Regions from separate parts of the Homo sapiens genome. Here all the other regions are linked to region 1. Evidence: promoter capture Hi-C in 16 types of primary human blood cells and fetal thymus (Javierre and others, 2016). All regions are on one chromosome and are shown on one strand. Each heading gives the region's core, a stretch centred on a gene start or on the middle of the fragment in contact. The rest is flanking DNA. Distances are from core to core; before and after follow the strand shown.

Region 1 (3,052 bases), core at 274-2,773:
TTTCACTGCACAAAAACTACTTCCCAAATGCTTTTTAAAGTTTACATTTCCAATTAGTGTACAGTTTGTCTAAGGAGAGGTGCAAGAAAAGATGTAGCCAAACTAAAGTTACACAAAACAGGACCGACACGGTGGCTCATGCCTGTAATCTCAGCACTTTGGGAGGCTGACCCAGGCGGATCACTTGAGGCCAGGAGTTTGAGACCAGCCTGGCCAACATGGTGAAACCCCGTCTCTACTAAAAATACAATAATTAGCCGGGCATGGTGGTGCGGGCCTGTAGTCCCAGCTACTCGGGAGGCTGAGGCAGGAGAATCACTTGAACCCGGGAGACGGAGATTGCAGTGGGTGGAGATCGTGCCACTGCACTTTAGCCTGGGCGACAGAGCGAGACTCTCAAAAAATAAAGCTATACGAAACAAATAATAAATTGTTTCATATTCAGCAAAAAGGAATAATTTGAGTGGGGCCTGGTTAAATGTGGAATACATCTGAGAATTTTATCTCTACAAAGTTTAAAGTGTTTTTGAAGGGAATGGTGTTAACGTGAGGAGATACATGCAATGGCAAAAAGACTTGTTTGAAAACAAGGGCTGTGCTGGACATTACCCAGAGATTAAGTGAATTTAATCAAGCAGAAAGATAAATCAATTGGCCTCCTAAGCTCGGGAATACCAATAAGAATGTGTTCCCTGAACGGGCAATACGCTGTAAGGAGCCCTGTCACGTTTCACACGAAACCTTCCAGGATACCTGAACAGGAAGTACGCGGAGCCCGGGCCAGAGCCTCCCCAGGCGCGTGGCTCACCAGGCTCAGGCCCTGAAAGACCGGAGCATCCGCGCTGAGGTCAAACAGGGAGATCGACGCAGGAGCCGGGGCTGCATCTGGAGCCGGCGACATGGCTGAGCAGAAATTATTTAGCAGCAGCTCCTGGAGTAGAAAGCGTGTAAGAAACAGGGCTCCTGCAAACGAGATCCTACTGCTGCGTCTCCTGCCTGCCTGACTTGGTTTCTCCTGCACCGCAAGACTTCTCGTCTCTCATCCTGCTACCAACTGTGAGATGAATACCTTGGCCCCCGTCCACTTTCTCAAACCCCCAGTCTCAGCCCACAAAAGAATGAAATAGGCATTCGGCTCCCAAATCGAGTCCAACAGAGTTAAAAATCACTGAGCTTGCCTAGCCGAACTTTCTTCGTTACCCATGCGACCAGCAACAACTGGCCCGCGTAAACTCGCCCACGCCCTTAGAAGACGCACCAAACGTCCCGGGAGCTGAGCGGCTCGCAAGTCCTCAGGTCGATTGCCGGATTTCTGCAACACAACAATCCCCGTCACTACGGAGCAGCGAAGAGGACAACCGGCGGCGTCCGCACCTGAGCCCCGCCCCACGTAGAGCACACTATTGGGCCGCTGACTGTCCAAGACCCGCCTCGAGACTTTAGTCCCGTCCCTGAAGCCGAGAATTGGCCGTTGTGTCTCCGCCCCCCGTGCTTATTGGCCAGCCTGGCTGCGGGTGACAGTGAGTGGCAGACACCCGGCCTAGCGCCGCGGGTCGCGCCGAGCCGAGCCGAGCCGAGCGGAGCCGGCGGAGCCTCTGGAATCACCCGGGTCGCTGTTCCTGAGGTAAGACGTGAGACCGGTTATTGGAATCCCAGGCCCCGTGTCTGGCCTTGCCCAGGGGTGCCTGCGGAGCCCTAAGTGAGCTCGCGGCGGGTAACGGAGGAAGGGGCGCCGCCGGCGGGGCGGGGGCGCGCAGCCGGAATGTTTTGATTGCTGGCGCGCGCAGACGGGGGCGCGCGCGGGCGCCGGGGCCGCGCGCGAGGTTGTCCGCTGTTGGGAGCTGCCAGCCCTTGGCCTGGGGCCGGGCGACCCTGGGGCGAGGTGGACTCCGGTCCACGGTCGCCGCGGCTGGGTGTGGGGAGGCAAGCCAACCCACCCGGGCTATCAGCTGTAAGGCTGACTCGATCCCTGCAACATCCGCAGGAACCCCTGAGCCCAGGCCCAGCCGGCCGGGGCTCCACGGGCCCTGGTCCACACTGACCCTGTGAGTGGTGACTTCCCTGAGGGGCAGGGCTCTCACTAGCCCAGGGAATCCCACCGGGGCCAGGCTGGGCCAAGATCCACGGCCCCCAGGGGCTGCACGGACAGGTGAGTACCACCTCGACCATGCCTGGCTTACAGGACCTAGGGAACCCACAAATTCACCTAGGATCGGGGGTCTACACTGACCCAGTCAAGGTTTCCCATCCAGAAGGTTTGCTCACCGGCTGGATCTTTGGTGCTAGGGAAGTAAGAGAAGGGGTTGACCAGAAAGGTCCTCTTCAGGAAAGACTCTTGAGGTTTTGTGGACCCTGAGAAGTATGTCATTTCTGAGGCTAAGGTAGGGCAATGGAGAAATAGTCCAGAGGCGCCCCTGGCCTCAGGTCTGTACCCACTCATTCTCCATGGGGTCCCTAAGTTACTTCTTGAGACCCTGGAGTTGGAAGAGTGGCCCGGTTTAGCACAGCCAGAGGAAGTGCTCGTAGTCCTGGGCTGGAAGGGTGCTTCTTCCCCACTGCAGCCTTCCTGCCCCATGCTTGGCCTCCTCTTGGTGGGGTGTGGATGGCTGGGAGGGTTGGGTTCCTTTTTATCCCCACTGCCCACTCTCTGGGGCCTGACATCTTCTCCTCCAGCAGCTGCAGAGCATCGAGGGCTGGAGAGGAGCACATACTGTCCATGGAGCTGGTAGGGCCATGTGCTTTTCTCAAACATTTGTTTGTGAAGTGCTTCCAAACTGTTAGTCTCTTGGGAGACCAGGGTTCCCAGGATGGGCGGGGGAGGGACTCTTCTGTCCGTTAAATAGAAGATGAAACAGCCCCCAACAAAGGGACAGATTCTGGCTTTGGGCCAGGAAAGCAGCAGTAGACACCCAGACTGGCCAGAGTTAAGGCTCCCCCAGCCCTGAGCTTACTGCCTTTCTTGTGTCACTACTCCTCTGCCTCTGAGCCAAGGAGGCTGGTAGTGGACAAAGCCCAAGGGTACTTTCTCCTTTTGGCAGTAGGCAGGGCAGCC
Region 2 (3,104 bases), core at 371-2,870, 830 kb after region 1:
CCCCTGAGCCAGGAGGATCTTGCCGTGGCCCCTTCATCCAGACACACGAAGGCAGCTCCTGACTTTCTCTGAAACGCCCCTGTCAGGGCTCCACAATCAACTGCAAGGCTCCTGCAGCTCCCAGACAAATAGGTCTAGCAGGTATTAAGGCGCCCACATAGGGAGTGCGTGGCCTGGAGAAGGAGGTCCTGGGGTGCTCTCTCCCTGCCTCTCACAGCCTCCATGACTGCTGCTGATCAGCCCCATTGCGGTGCCTCCTGACCCCACCTTACCTGAGCACCCCTGCTCAGGACAGCCAGGGCCTGGGACCCAGGGCAGTCCACCCCTGCCCTCCCTCCATCCTCTCCACCCCCGTGGGTACGAAGTCCTCACTGCGGCTGGGCCCAGAGGCAGGGGTGCAGTCCCGCGGCCTGGGGCCAGTGTCCAGTGGCCATCTGTTTGCCCTGCCCCGCCCAGACCTCCGACCTGGAGCCCAGCAGCCTGATTGACAGATACCCCTCCCACCCCACCCCCCTCCGGCCCCCTGCAACTAGCCTTTCCACCTTGCCCTCAGTTCCGGGGCAGCCAGACCCAGGCGAGGGTGGGCAGACCTGGGGGCAGCGTCCAGATCCTGAGGTCCACACGGGGAAAAGGAGAAGACAGACCCCCCCACCCCGGCCCAGCCACGCTGGGGGACGCAGCCTCGTCGGGGCGGCGAGGCTTTGCGGGGTGGTGCGTGCCCACTAGGCGCACGACTCTCCCCGCGGGCGCCAAGCGACTCTTGGAAGTGCCGGCCGTCCTCTCTGTGCCTCCGAGGGGGTCGGCGCCTCCACGCGTGACGCGAAGTTTGTGGGGAACGTAGCTGTGTGTTGGCGGGAGATCCCTCCAAGCCTCCCCAGCCTGCTGTCACCTCGGCGCCCCCTCCCAAGACCCTACCGGACCGCAGCCCGGGGGGGTGGGGGTGGGGGGTGGGGCGGAGTCTCAGCGGGTGGCCCATAGGCGCCCTCCTCAGCTCCCCCATCTCCCAGCCCCATTGGCGCCAATGGTGGGGGGGCGCCCATGCACCACGCAATGCCTGCCAGGAAACCCCCGAAGAGTTCCCTCTCTATTCCTGCCTCAGTTTCCTCACCTCGAGCGAACAGGAGCGCCCCAAAGGCGCCAGGCCCCGCCCCGCGTCTCTGAGCCTCCTCTGAGTTCAAACTCTCTCCCTGCTCCCTCTCGGGCTGGGAGCTTCGGGCACAGCTAAGGCGGCCGCCCGGGGCGGCGGCGGCGGCTCCCCTGGGGAAGATCCCGGCCCCTTCTCTCCTCCCACGGCGCCCCGGCTTCGGCCCCCTCCCCGCAGCCCCGGTACCTTTGCCCCGCAGCGGGCCCCGAGCCTCCTCCTTGCTGATCTGAGTAATGACGGCCGAGCTGTCCATGGGGCCGGGCGCGCTCCGCTCCGGCCGGACTCTGGCCCGGGCGCCCGGCCTCCCCCCCGGCTGGGGCCGGAATCGGGGCGCGGGGGGGAGGGGAGGGGTGGGAGGGAGGGATCCCCGCGAGCTCCGGAGGGGAGGGGAGCCAGGTTCTAGGGGGGAGGGGGAGGGAGGGGGCGCGGAGGAAACTTTGTTACAACATGGAGTTTCCTTCCCGCGAGGCGGATGCAAACATGGAACCCAGGCGCCGTTTCAAGGCTCCCCCTTAAAAGGGCAACGGCTTCGGCGTGACCTGGACTCGGCTGCGGCTTTCGCCACTTCTGGGACCGGCGCGGCTAGGCGGACTGGGAGGCGGGCCGGGCCGGGTTCCTGCCGCGCTCCAGGGGGCGTCGCCTCCCTTCCTGCCGCCCGCCGGCGGGGCTGAGTCTCTGCGGCTGCGTGGCAGGCCCGGCACCCGGCTCACCGTTCCAGGCCGCCGAGCGCCCTCGGCCAAGGCCCGCCCGCCGGGAGCGCCCACGCCGGGGAGTGCCCGAGTGCGGCGCGGCTCCACCTCTGCGTTTTCTGAAGACCCGGGACTAGAGGCTTCTCGGTTTCCTCGTTGAGGACTTGGAGATAGCACTACCTCATCTGTAAAATGGGTCTTCTCTCCTGTCTGGTGGTCGCAGAGATCACCTCGCAAGGACGTCAAGAGCCAGCGAAGGCTCTGCTGGCCCGAAACAGCTGTGCAAACCTCAGAATCACGCTCTTGAATGGGACGGTCGCCGCCCCCCGCAGCCCCAGGGCGAGGTGCCCCCGGTCTGTAGGACGTGAAATTCTAACTCTCTGCCCTGGGAAAGCCCCCTGCCGACCTCTCCCCACGGCCCCACCCGGGGCCCCGCACGTCTACCCGCCGCGCACGGGCCACCGCGCGTTCCCGCCTGAAGTTTTCGTACGCGCTGTTCCTTTCGCGTAGCCAAATTCCACCGACCTCGAGGAAATGCCACCTTCTCCAGGGGCCTTCCCAGACCCCCTCCCCTGCCCGCGGTCGACGGCCGCCCTGTGATTACTGGGGGTGCGGTGGGAGTCACTGGACTCGCTGCCGATCCTAGGAGCCCAGCACGGCGCCGCACGCGGTGGGCCCAAAGCCCGACCGTGGGGGACCTCAAACCAGAGGCCCTCAAGGCCCGTTCCACCCGGCCTGTGGCGCAGTGCTGGGCACTTGGGAACGGAGGTCCCTGTCTTCTCGCTGCAAGCCCCTCCGTGGTGCGCGCCGTGGGTCTGCGGGTTGGTCTTTTTCCTCGTTTATGAAGTTCTTTTCACTCGTCGTTACTATTTTGTAAGTTCACCATTTAAAAATTAATAATGCCAAGCCCGACAAACACCCCTCGGCACTTCCTCCCCTCCCCCTCTCCCGCGGGCCTCCGTGGCGGGGCGGGGCGGGCGCGTCCTGTCCCGTCCGGCCGCCGGGTGCGACGCGGCGCACGTCCGCCAGGCCCTGCCGAGGGGGAGCCGGGGAGGGGAGGCCCCGCGCGGGGGCCGGGAGGGGAAGGGAGGGGAGCGGCGTCTGCCAGAAGGCGCGGCGGCTTCGTGCGCTGAGGCTGGGAGTAGGGGCGGGAGGGGACTGTCGGGGACTGATACCCCGGTCCCCGGGCTGGATCCCTCGGCCCTCCTCCTGCTCCTGGGTAGCCCACGGGGCGGCCACCATTGCGCTTCATCACCGTGATCGCCACACGC
Region 3 (3,024 bases), core at 487-2,986, 530 kb after region 1:
AGCCATGATCATGCCACTGCCCTCCAGCCTGGGTGACAGAGCGAGACCCTGTCTCAAAAACAAACAAACACCAGAATAACAAAATAGATATGGTAGCTGCTCAAGTAGTGATGGAGTACACTGAACTATCCTCTACCTCTGTGTGTGTTCAAACATTTCCAACTGAAAGACAAGATGTTCACAATTGAACTCATTCCCACCCATTATCACTCCACTGCTAGCCTTCCCCATTTTAGTGAATGACAATTCCATTCTTCCAATTGCTCAGACCAAAAACCTTGGAGTCATCCCTGACTGCTTTCTTTTGGTCATACCCTCACCTCCAATCAGTCAAGAAATCCTGTTTGTTCCATGTTCAAAATATATTCAAAATTTGACTACTTTTTTATCACTCCATAGGTATCACCCCAGTCGCCATCCAGGACACCATTGTCTCTTGCCTGGATTATTATAACAATAGCCTCCTAACTGCTTATCCTACTTCGCATTCTCCCCTACTCCCCATAGCCATTCACAAGACCAGAATGAAGAATGATCCGTTTAGGATGCAAGGTAGTTCATAAAATTCTCTGTTCAAAAGCCTGCAATAGATGCCTCCTTCATTCAAAGTAAGAGCCCAAGTCTTCACCAAGGTCTACAAAGCCTACAATATCTGGCCCCCACCATTACCTTCCTGTCTCATTTCCTACTATTCTCCACCTTCTTTACTCACTTAATCCATACTGGTTCCTCATAGCTCCTCAAGCATGCCAGGCATGCTTTCATCTCAGGGCCTTGGCTTTTCCCCAAAATAGGTGCACAACTCACTCCCTCGCCTCCTTCGAGTCTTTTCTCAAGTGTCACCTTCTAGTGAGGCCTACCCTGACCATCCGACTCAGCACTCCTCATCTCCTTTCCCTGGTTTCTTTTTCTCCATAGCTTTTACCACCTTCCTACATACTATTCTTTTAATAATTTCACTATCTCCCCGACCAGAATGGAAACTCTATGATGGGCACTGTTTTATCTCCTGTACCTAGAATAGTATCTGGCATACAGAAAGGACTCAAAAAATATACATTGAACTGAATTGAGATAATCTGGATAGAAGAAAATTATGGTGCTCCCTAGAAAAATATTATTTTTGCTAAAGTATAAACACTGTGGACAATGAAGATGAGGGTTAAACAAAATTTCTTATAAAAATAAGGGCACTTTACTTGTCTTTCATTTCTAAAACAACTGGAATTTAAGGAAGGACAGAAAGGAGTCTCCTCATTTTATGGATGGAGAAATCAAGGCCCTGGAAGCTTGTTCTAAGCCATCCAATGAGTTAAGGTTTTCCAATGCTTCCAGTTAGATTATAATTCTAACAGGTCTGACTAAAAGCCCTTTCTGGTAAATTGTACAATCTTTAAAATAGCTATCCTTCTACAGCAGCTTGGAGTCCCTACACATTAGAACTCCACTAAATATTAAAATTAGTCACTAAGTCTGAGCAACCTAATTGACCGCTCTGTTGAATCTTACCCTTTCCTATTTCAGCTCCACCGGCCTTGACTTGAAAGTAGGTAACCAAATATAGTTCATCTAGGAAGGGGGAAATTGGTAAAGGCAAGAAATGATATAAATAAGCTGCCAGACCAGGATCTTGTGTGAACACGATACCAGCACCTCCAACACCACATAGAAGCTGAAAGAGGGGTTGAGCCTCTCAACCCTTGTCCTGGGAGCTTCAAGTATGGTGAGGCACAACTTTTATTAAAAGAGTTTACAAACAGAACTATTAAACACACACACACATACACACACACATATACACACACACCCCAAAAAAAGATACACTCTCCACGCCCACCCACAGATAGGAATGTTGGCTAAGGGATAATCCCTCAATAACAGGGACTGATGGCATTGATCCCCACAGCCTAGAGCTGAGACAGGCTCTGTCTTCATCACTGTCCTGGGGCCAGCACGTCTAAGGCAAAAACCTGCTGGGAAGATTAAAGGAGCTCCAGAAAGGAAGAGATCTTTCAGGTTGAGGTTTTTCCCTAAGGTCCGTGAGGCAGGTCCCTAGAGTTAAAGGCACATTATTGGAGAAAAGGCCCCTGGATGTAGAGAAGAAAGGACTCTTCTCTGGCACCAACAGCAATAAAATTTACTGGTTGAAAACATCCTGCATCTGGGAGAAGGAAGAAGCTTTATATATAAATCTCTTCTAGTTTCTTGTTCTCAGTTGAGTTGGCAGCTTATCTCTTTTCTAGTCTCTTTAGCTCTCAGTTGAGTTGGCGGCTTGTGTAGTAGAATAAGAAAGAGCTGGCAACCAAAGTTGGAGGCTGGACCGCAGGAATCTGGAATCACATGCTATGGGCTGGCCTCAGGAGGTGAATGAGTTTCCTGCAGTGTTTGGCAGAGGCAGGCCTAGGACTGCTGTGTGGCAGTGACTGATTCCCCAGAGAGAGCAAGGATAGTTTCTCACTGGCACCCAGGGACACCAGTACCTGTAGGATAGAGAACAGATGATAGAACAGAACATGAGGCTCAGAAATGGTGGTGTCTGGGGCAGGTGCGGAGGACTCTCATTTACCCAGGAATTCCCACTCGAGAAGAGGAAGAAAAAGGAAATGGGCTCTTGGGGACTTGGAATAGACTGAATGGCAGAAGAGAAACCTTGGAGATAGGAATCATCAGGACCAGAAGTCTACTTCCATTCTCTTTGGTTATAGACCATGAAACCAAGGCACTAAGGGACACATATACTTGTCCCCAGGAAGACTTGATGAATGCAGCAGTAACTCACAGTAAGCCAAAAGGTCTAATTCCTAGCCTTCAATGCAGACCAGTGAGTTCTAACCTCATTACCACCAAGAATCCCATTAATTATTTTCCCCATGGATTGCACAAGATTCCTATAGGATCTTCACCATCGGCCAGGCAAGGTGGCTCATGCCTGTAATCCCGTACTTTGGGAGGCCAAGGCGGGCGGGTCACGAGGTCAGGACATCGAGACCATCCTGGCTATCACGGTGAAACCCCGTCTCTACT
Region 4 (2,822 bases), core at 1-2,500, 570 kb after region 1:
CCACAGGTCAGCATTACTGTGTGGGTCAATACCCTCCTTTTGTGGGGTAAGGGTGGTATTGGAATGCAAGGGTGGAGGCTCCAGGTCCCTCATCCCATTTTGTCCTTCATTAGTCTACTCATACCTGTTTCCTACCAGAGGACCATGTCTGGAGATGCCTTAAACCAAAAAGAGCTATATAAACAGGCTTCACATCAGGGTAATGGATGGACAGGATTTTTGTGGTCCCTGGGACCAGCTATGATAAAAAGGGGTCCATTGGCTGCAGTCAGCAAGGGAGAAGCGTCCGTTGACTTGTCAGTAACCCTATGTCTTGTTATGAGTAATGTCCTTCAAATATCCTCCCCCTTACGTCCCCAATATTTAACGTCTTGTTTAGACCTTTATTACCTCCCACCTAAACTGTCTTTAAAATCGTAGTTCTTGAAATGGCATTTTAATAGGTCTTCACCTCCTGCTTCACGGAACATCTACACAAGGGTCCAGATCTTTCATCATAGGGATCAGCTCCAATACCATATCTCTCTCTGCTCCAGCACCTTCAATGGCTGGCTCCCAGCAGACCCCTGAATTGGGTATAAACTCAGCCTGGTACTCAAGGCTCTCTACAATACGGCGCCCACCTACCTTTCATGGATTAGCTCCTAACACTACCTGTTTAGCAAATATGCAAATACGCAACAAATATGTTCAACAAGTAAGCAACCTCCCAACTCCTTGCTCATGCAGTGCTCTTGGCTCGGAATGCCCGTTCTTTTCTCCCTCATTCTCCCCAAATGAAAATCTGCCCATCTGCTACTTTCTCCACGGATCGTCACATCGTAGACAATAAGATCCTGAGGGACAAGAGCAAAGTTGTTTCTAGTACACCTCTCCTCCAACCCCGAACCCCGGCCACTTTGCCCTGCGCCTGGCATGCAGGGAGGTGAGCTGACAGCAGTGACCTCGGCTGAGCCTCAGAACTGGGATCCAGAATTCCAAAACACCTATGCATGGAAGGCCACAGACAAAGCTCTCCCGTCCCCGGCCCCTCCGCGACACCCAGGAACCCCCTCCTGAACCTCGCCCACACCCCAGCTCGCGCCTCCAGCCACATGGTTTGGGGTAACCCGTCACTCAGCCCTCTCACCGCCGTGACTCTCTGGCCCTCCGTCTCGATGGTTTCACCGCGCCTGCACCTTGGGGAAGCTGCGTTCGGCCCCGCCCCGGGTCCTTTCATCTACTTCCCGCCACACCCACAGAGAAGCCCACGCCACTCTACCCCAGAGCTCTCGATGGTGCTTCTCCGGCTTCAGGGCTGGAGTGGGGGTGGAGGGCGGGAAAAACCACAGAGACAAAACATAGAGTACCCCGGCAGCCGGCAAGAGGAAGAGAGAGTGGCTTCCACATCCCCAATATCCTAGAGGCGGCTGAGCCGGAGGCGGTCGCACAAAGCGGGCCCCGGGGGCCGTTCCAGCCGCGGCCGACCATAGAGATGCGGCTCCCGCCGGCTCTGGGTCTGGAGGTGAGTGAGCGGCTGCGGGGCGGAACTGGGAAGGGAATGCGGGTGGAGCGAGCTGGAGGCAAAGTTTTTCGAGCCCCGGGATCAGGGTGGGCCTGGGCGCTGGGAACTCTCGGAAGGAGGTACTGAAGGGAGCACCCAGACGAGCTGGGCCCCGGCGCTGCAGTCGCGTCACGGTTCTGGACCCCGCCCGGGTACCTGCTGCTCTCAGGACAAAATCATGACGATGCTCCATCCCAAGCCTTCCAGGTTACAAACCGCCTTTCCAGTTCGCTGGCTCTTATGATCCAGCTCCTGCCCGACGATGTGGACACTGTCATCACCTCCATTTTACAGATAGGAAAGCTGAGGCCCAGAGAAGCGAAGCGACTGTGTCTGTCCAAGACCACGCGGTGAGTCAGAGCCAGAGGCAGGTGGGAACCTGGGTCGCTAGGCCGGGGCCCGTTGTTTCTCCAGGCCTTCTCTCTGCCTTAGTCTGTCCTTTCTCTTCCTCAGCCCTCCTGCCCGGAAGATAAGCGTATTTCTTCTCTGGTGCCCACCTGTCTCCTACCTCACCCTGCCCTCCCGCAGGTGAAGGTTCTTAATCTTGACGGCTCAGCGTCCTCCTTGGCTCCCCCCGGAGGCCATGTATGGTCAAGCTTGAAGATTCCCCAGAACAGCGATAATATTCAGTAAGTGGAGGCTGCAGTTTCCAGAGAATCCCTCTGACCACGGGAGTGCACTTTCCAGCCACCTTGTGAATCCCTGTGATCTGTTGTTTTGAGTCCATGGGATTCTGGAAATAGGGACTATCAGATTGCAGGATCTTGGTTTTTGTTTGTTTTTTTTTTGAGACGGAGTTTCGCTCTTGTTGCCCAAGCTGGGGTGCAATGGTGCGATCTCGGCTCACTGCAACCTCCGCCTCCCGGGTTCCAGCGATTCTCCTGCCTCAGCCTCCCGAGTAGCTGGGATTACAGGCGTGTGCCACCACACCCTGCTGATTTTTTGTATTTTTAGTAGAAACAGGGTTTCACAATGTTCGCCAGGCTGGTCTCGAACTTCTGACCTCAGGTGATCGGCCCGCCTTGGCCTCCCAAAGTGCTGGGATTACAGGCCTGAGCCACCGCGCCCGGCCTGGTTTCTTCTTCTTTTTTTCTTTTTGCATCTTGTCTGTGACTCAATTTCATGAAGTGATTCCCATCATTCTTATTAATTACTAATTATTCAGCTTAAACTCATTTTAGCCATGTATAACAGGGTATGCAATTCAATTGTCATTCATTCCTCAGTTATGTTCCCATATTTAGTTTGAGGCCATAGTCAGTTAATGAGTTTGAAATTT

What was found. Contacts are between HindIII fragments. The CHiCAGO score rates a contact against its expected background, and 5 or more counts as called.
Region 2: a contact is called between the fragment with the promoter of CTDSP1 here and the fragment with the promoter of ATG9A in region 1, in 7 of 17 cell types (total CD4 T cells, total CD8 T cells, non-activated CD4 T cells and 4 more). The highest score is 8.7, in total CD4 T cells.
Region 3: a contact is called between a fragment that was not itself captured here and the fragment with the promoter of ATG9A in region 1, in 2 of 17 cell types (total CD8 T cells and activated CD4 T cells). The highest score is 6.9, in total CD8 T cells.
Region 4: the fragment with the promoter of ZNF142 here is called in contact with the fragment with the promoter of ATG9A in region 1 in 7 of 17 cell types (naive B cells, total B cells, naive CD4 T cells and 4 more); the score reaches 8.2 in naive B cells.

Annotation. Positions count from the first base shown.
Region 1 is chr2:219,228,107-219,231,158 of GRCh38, reverse strand. It overlaps ATG9A (autophagy related 9A), which reads left to right and starts at 1,523. Exons shown (of 16, transcript NM_001077198.3): 1 at 1,523-1,624; 2 at 2,674-2,725. ANKZF1 (ankyrin repeat and zinc finger peptidyl tRNA hydrolase 1) reads right to left here and starts at 1,353. Exons shown (of 14, transcript NM_018089.3): 1 at 1,259-1,353; 2 at 754-931. The coding sequence starts at 901. RefSeq lists enhancers at 1,159-1,268, 939-1,486, 1,487-2,034, 2,035-2,583 and silencers at 1,419-1,548, 1,759-1,808. The HindIII fragment of the contact is 5,267 bases long and covers 1-3,052 here.
Region 2 is chr2:218,398,384-218,401,487 of GRCh38, reverse strand. CTDSP1 (CTD small phosphatase 1) reads right to left here and starts at 1,620. Exons shown (of 7, transcript NM_021198.3): 1 at 1,331-1,620. The coding sequence starts at 1,397. RefSeq lists silencers at 1,173-1,332, 1,493-1,572, 1,643-2,012, 2,703-2,972. The HindIII fragment of the contact is 4,794 bases long and covers 1-3,104 here.
Region 3 is chr2:218,701,322-218,704,345 of GRCh38, reverse strand. It overlaps STK36 (serine/threonine kinase 36), which reads right to left. Exons shown (of 27, transcript NM_015690.5): 27 at 1,631-2,480. The coding sequence ends at 2,337. Among named protein-coding and RNA genes, the nearest start is that of TTLL4, 8.0 kb to the left of the region's middle. The HindIII fragment of the contact is 889 bases long and covers 1,292-2,180 here.
Region 4 is chr2:218,658,051-218,660,872 of GRCh38, reverse strand. ZNF142 (zinc finger protein 142) reads left to right here and starts at 1,250. Exons shown (of 11, transcript NM_001379659.1): 1 at 1,250-1,504; 2 at 1,743-1,893; 3 at 1,997-2,172. It overlaps BCS1L (BCS1 ubiquinol-cytochrome c reductase complex chaperone), which reads right to left and starts at 1,190. Exons shown (of 8, transcript NM_001079866.2): 1 at 1,130-1,190. RefSeq lists enhancers at 1,067-1,196, 2,007-2,126. The HindIII fragment of the contact is 10,571 bases long and covers 1-2,141 here.